2 separate regions of the Homo sapiens genome follow, and region 2 is linked to region 1. The links are contacts of gene promoters, found by promoter capture Hi-C in human tissues and cell types (Jung and others, 2019). All regions are on one chromosome and are shown on one strand. The core of a region is centred on a gene start or on the middle of the fragment in contact, and the rest is flanking DNA. Distances in the headings are between cores, read along the strand shown. Region 1 holds the start of TRMT11 (tRNA methyltransferase 11). Region 2 overlaps LOC105377989 (a long non-coding RNA gene).

Region 1 (3,085 bases), core at 305-2,804:
CTGAAGATTTGACAAGTTCTGGGGATGGGGCATATCAAGTACTGCACATCATTTCCCCAACATCTCATTGGTTTTCTGTCCCAACCTTGGCCTCTCTTCTCAAATAGTAAACAACTTTTCTTGTCTCAAAGTACTTTTACCCCCTTTTCTGAAGTTTTGGGGTCAAGAGACAGCTATGCTTCTCAGAGTCACTTAGCACAAGTGAACTTGAGACATATTCCTAACAAAAACAGATCTCTTGCTAACAAAAATTCTCATGTGATTTTCTTAAGAAAAATGTCAAGTGCCACTTATTGGCCCCATTCAATATGCCAGATGTTATATTCAACACTTTATGAACATTATTCCACTTAATCCTTGTAACAATCCTTTGCAGGAGGCAGTGTGTTTTTCCATTTTTAAAAGAAAACTCAAGCTCGGAGAGGTTAAGAGCATATACATGGTAAATGGTGGAAGTGAGGTTTGAATCTAATATTGACACCACAGCCTATGTTCTTAATCACTACCACTGCGCATCAACTACGTTTCTGGCACATGCCGCTGGGGATATGCCAGATACATACTCTTTTGCACCTTGTACAATACCACAGAGAAATGCAAAATAAATAATTTTTAATAGGGCAAAGGGCTCGGTACTCTCAAAAGCAGAAATAGCCCAGAGGGAGGGCTTGAGCCCGTAATTCTAGCACTTTGGGAGACTAGGGTAGGAGTATCCCCTGAGACCAGGAGTTCAAGGTTACAGTGAGCTATGATTGCGCCACTGCACTCACCTGGGTGACAGAGCAAGATTGTCTTAAAAAAAAAAAGTCACATATATACATAGAATATGCAATTAAAATATATTTCATAAACTATCTGCTATGAAATCTGTGCCAGTGTGAGCTTTCTCCAAGTTTTAATTTATGGCTGGCTGTGGATTTAGTCCTGAGTCTAACAAATAACACAACCTAATAATTATTGCCTACTTTGAGGAAGATATTCTTTTGGTTTTTGTTAAGAATAGAGTGAACCATAAAAGATTATATCAGACCTCAAGAGTTTATTATAATTGGGTTATAAGGCATGTGCTCTCGAAAAGTTGTTACATAAATACGAAAAATATACTGTTAAATGACTGGCCCAACTAAATCAGTTCCCAAAGCTGTGCTGGTTAGACAAACCTACAAGGAAATGGTGAAATTTCCAAGGAAATGGTGAAATTTCAGTCCAATTTTGAAGAACAGGTTTTGAAGGGCTGTAGAGAAAGCTGGAAGCACACTCCAAGTGGAACGATAACTTGGAAATATACTGTCTTATTATCACAGGCTGCTCCTGAAAGCCACGCGTCCCCGCTCACCAGCTACCAGCGCTGGGAGACCCCTAACCACCAGGCATTCACAGGTGAGGAAGCCCCTCCCACAGCGGCCGGAGTTTCGGACTCGGAGCGCGAGAAACGTCGGGATAGCGCCTGCCTCGCAGAGCTTCCGCTTCCGGCCCTTCAGGCTCTGTCTCTGTGGAGACTGGGCTTTGGGAGGGAGAAAGAGGGACCTAGCGCGGGCCGCGCAGGCGCACGGTGGGCAGCTGCAATGGCGCTGTCGTGTACCCTTAACAGGTATCTGCTCCTCATGGCGCAGGAGCATCTGGAGTTCCGCCTGCCGGTGAGTCCGTAGCGCCCTCCGGAACTTCCGACGGAAGAGGACGCTGGAGTGGAGTGGAGTGGGTGGAGGTGATCTGCATAGCCCGAGGAAGCTGGGATTCGGGGGTCTTCGCTGGTCTGCGCGGGTCACGCGTCCCCAGTCCTCGGGCGGGGTGAGCTTGGCGGAGGGTGTGTGTGAGAGAAGTCCGAGACCAAACCCCTCGGCCTGCTTAAACTTTTCATTCTTTTGCCCGTGTATCAAGTACCGGAGTTAGGCAGGTGAATATGACCGGTCATCTCACTCCCGGAGCTCTTCGTCTAGCGGAGAATAGAGACAGCTAACAAATGCTCAGGCTGGTGTTTGAAGTATTGGAATCTGCGGATCAAGCTCAGTGGAGGGGATGGTGGTGGGGATTAGATGATGGAGAAGTTGAGAAGAGTGTTTTATTTATTCAAGAAACGTTTTCAGAATGCATGTAGTCGAAGATCGGTACGCTGGGCATGTAACGATGATGTAAGCAATCTCTGCCCTCTAGGAGCTTACTGTTTAGAGTAAGGGCTGAGCAGACACATAGGCGTAGAATGACAAAAGAGCGTCGGTAAGTGCAGTGATAGATGCACATGGAAATATGAGAGCACGTGGAAGGGAAATCTAATCTACCTGAGGGGTTGGGGATGTTGGCCTTTAAGAGGGCTTCCAGAGGAGATGACACTTGAAATAAAGGATGAATAGGAGTTAGAGGGCCAAGGAGATAAATCAGTAAATTAGAATTACAAGGTGTTCATTATTACTGGATCACTAGTTATGTGGCAGAGTGGTAAGAAGAGAGCAAGGGAAGTAGATCGAGGCCAGAAAATGAAAACCTTGAGTACCCTGGAGCTTGGAAGGGGGATTTATTGAAAAGCCTTAAGTAAAAAAGTGACCACAAAATTAAATCAGTTTGACAACACTATGGAGGATGGATTTGAAAAGAATAAGACTTGAGCCAGAGACTAGGAGTCTGTGGGAATAGTCTTGTTAATAGATTAAGAAGGTCTGACCTAGGGCAAGGAGTAAGAGGATGGGATAGACTGGGAAAATATTTAGGCCATACAGTCATTAAGGCTGGATTGATTGAATATGTGGGAAAGGGGCACCAGTCAGGTATGACTCCTGGGGTGTATATAGGTAGGAGTGTCTCCATTTAAAATAGAGAACATAGGCAGATGTAAGATTTAAATTTTGTTTACACTGAATTTGATGTGGTTGTGTAACATCAACCTGAGATGACCAAGAGGCGGTGGATATATGAATATGCATAGAGTATGGCAGAGTGATCTGGACTAGTGATAAATATTTGGGAGTCTTCTTCATATGAAAACTAGGAGCGGGGAAGAAATTACTCAAAGGATAAGGTCAAAAGAGTAGCGGGCCAAGTATAGATGCTTGGAAGCATTGATATTAAGGGAAAGTCGGAGGAGGCCATGAAG
Region 2 (3,085 bases), core at 392-2,891, 1.1 Mb after region 1:
TGGATATATTGTGTGTGCGTGTGTGTGTGTGTGTGTGTGTGTGTGTGTGTGTTTACTGTAACCATACCTCTCCAACTCCCTCTTCCCAGATCAAGGAGGCCTTCTGCCATCAACCTTAATCTCGTTAGTTCCCATGCTTATTGTAAAAAAGTGACTAGCCAGGGTAATATTTAAAATATTTAACAAATAGTACAGAAAGGAAGGGAGCAGAGAAAGCCAAAGCAGCTGAAAGGTGGTTGGTGAATGTACTCAGGGAGCGTGGAACAGCAACTATTTACAAATCTACTCTGAATTATTGCAGGATTTTAATAACTAACACTATTATGTGCACTGAATAACATCAATGCTGAATGTAGTTTTTACACTTTATGGTACTCCCCTCAGCTTCACAAGAACACTTTCGCTGGGGCTTTTTTTTCTTTTTTTTTCTTTTTTTTTTTTGAGATGGAGTCTCACTCTGTTTCCCAGGCTGGAGTACAGTGGCACAATCTCGGCTCACTGCAACCTCCACCTCCCCATTTCAAGTGATTCTCCTGCCTCAGCACCCCCAATAGCTGGGACTAAAGGCACACACCACAACACCCAGCTAATTTTTGTATTTTTAGTAGAGACAGGGTTTCACCATGTTGGCCAGGCTGGTCTCAAACTCCTGACCTCAGGTGATCCACCTGTCTTGGCCTTCCAAAGTGCTGGGATTATAGGCACGAGCCACCACACCAAGCCTTTGCTGGGGCATTCTGAGATATTCTGCTAGTGGGCCCTTCTCTGTCCTCTGCTCTTAATCTCAAATATATATTCATATTATAATTTTCTCCTACATTCACTCAAGATGGAGTTTTTATAGGTTTTTTTTTTTACTTGTTGCTTTTTAAGTGTGCCAGGAAGAGAAGGAAAAATACTCTAATTTGTATTTTTCCGTTTATACCAAAAGTCTGAGTTAAGAAGTTCATTGTTAAATGTTCTGATATGACAGGTTTTTTGGTCATTTTTGTTATTTATTTCCAATTTTGTCACTGAATGATAAGAAAATGTAACCTAAATTAAAAAGGATTTTGTTTATATGCCATATATACCTGTTACATACCTTAATAATCCTTTTAAAATAATATGTGGTCACATGTGTTCTCTAATTTAAGAGCAGAATTACATATGTGCCCAGATTATCAAGCTTTTTTATGTGTTGTTCAAATTTTCAAAATCAGTATTATTTTTAATCTGCTTGACTTATCAAATATTAAAAGAATGGTGTTACGTATCATGATGGTGGATTGGTCAATTTCTTCTTGAAATTGTGTCAATTTTTCTTATGCATAATAAGATTTTTTTTTTTTTTTTTTTTTTTTTTTTGAGATGGAGCCTCGCTCTGTTGCCCAGGCTGGAGGGCAGTGGCACGATCTTGGCTCACTGCAAGCTCCGCCTCCTGGGTTCACGCCATTCTCCTGCCTCAGTGTCCCGAGTAGCTGGGACTACAGGCACCCGCCACCACTCCCGGCCAATTTTTTCTATTTTTTAGTAGAGACAGGGTTTCACCGTGTTAGCCAGGATGGTCTCAATCTCCTGACCTCATGATCCGCCCGCCTCGGCCTCCCAAAGTGCTGGGATTACAGGCGTGAGCCACTGCCCGCAGCCAAGATTGTTTTGATAGAGGTGCACACGTGTTCAAAATTGTTACATCTTTCTGATTAGTATTTTTATGTATAATTACTTAGCAAAATTTTCTCTCTATAATATCTTTTGCCTCAAAATCTATTCTGTCCAATAATTATAAAGCTACACAAGTTTCCTCTTAGGATTTATTTGCCAAGTATATTTTTCCCATTTTTGTTTTTAATTTTTCTGTTCCACCAGAGATGCAATGTAGTGCAGTGGGGAAGACAGCAAGTCTTGAGCTCTCAGACTTCCTGTTAAGTCCCTGCTCTGTCACTTTATAATGGTATTATCTGGGGGGAAGTTTTTTAACACCTCCATGCCTCCGGGTTCTCATTTTTAAAACAGAGATATTAACATGGTATATATCTGCCTTAATTTTATATTAATCTTCGTGTTTGTTTGCTGAAAGGACTCAAATAGTGTTTACTCACAAAATAGCTTTATTATGGGTAAAGGATACAATGCAACAATGGCAAAACAAAGGTATTCATTGAAAGGGGTCTGGAAATCTCAGATGCAGGCTTGTCTTCTCACTATGGATTGCACTGAATTGACTTGTTCTCCTAGTTTTGAATCACCATCAAAATGTATGCAAAGCATCTTGGTACCAACAAGCTCAAAGTCTGTTCATGATGGGGTCTGTTATAGAGAGGTGGTCACATAGGCACATTCCAGCTATGTGATCATCCTAAATTACAAAAATTACCCAGGTTGCACCAAACACAGATGCAAATCATCAATTACAAAACAGTGTTGACAAATTGATGCATCCACATGGTTATAGAACATAATTTATCACTAGTTAAAATATATTATAACATTGGCCAAGGGTGATTACTCCAGGTAGTTCTGGACATAAGCATGAGGTCAACCCAGCTGAATACTATGTCAAAAGGCTTTTGTGAGATTTGAAGAAGTTACAATTCTAAGCACTGTGCTTATTCCTAGGTAAATACTAGCTATTTTTTGTTATGCTTAAGGTGTGATTCTTATAATTGAATTTATTCTTTTTGTTATACCTGAGATTATTTGCCTTTAACTATAGAGTTTGCTCTTGGCTGGGTGGGTTGGCTCACACTTGTAATCCCAGCACTGAGGAATTACCCAGAATGCAGCACATAAACATAACAAGATTCAAAACAGTACAGACTAGACACATAGGGCCTAGAGTGAGAGTGAGGAGATGCAGTATTTGTTAAACAGGGTGGTAAGCCCAATATACAAAGATAATTTCTCAGAAGTGATGAAAGACAAGAACACTTATATTAAAAACAACAACAACTCATCGAGTCTCAATCAGGACATATGAGAATAAATATGTACCTGTAAATACTGTAATGAACTGCAAAATCACTAAAGATTAAAATAATTCTTCAAAGCAACTAAAGATAAAAAATGTATTACCTAGTCCAGTCACAGTGACTCACGCCTGTAA

What was found. The method cuts DNA at HindIII sites, captures the fragments that hold promoters and counts their contacts. A contact is called where the count stands out against the background at its distance.
Region 2: a contact is called between a fragment that was not itself captured here and the fragment with the promoter of TRMT11 in region 1, in 1 of the 25 tissues and cell types used here (stomach).

What each region holds. Positions count from the first base shown.
Region 1 is chr6:125,984,986-125,988,070 of GRCh38, forward strand. TRMT11 (tRNA methyltransferase 11) reads left to right here and starts at 1,555. Exons shown (of 13, transcript NM_001031712.3): 1 at 1,555-1,637. The coding sequence starts at 1,566. RefSeq lists enhancers at 778-1,608, 1,586-2,075, 1,609-2,438. The HindIII fragment of the contact is 9,309 bases long and covers 1-3,085 here.
Region 2 is chr6:127,062,961-127,066,045 of GRCh38, forward strand. All of the region lies in intron 5 of LOC105377989 (a long non-coding RNA gene), which reads right to left. Among named protein-coding and RNA genes, the nearest start is that of RSPO3, 54 kb to the right of the region's middle. The HindIII fragment of the contact is 4,129 bases long and covers 1-3,085 here.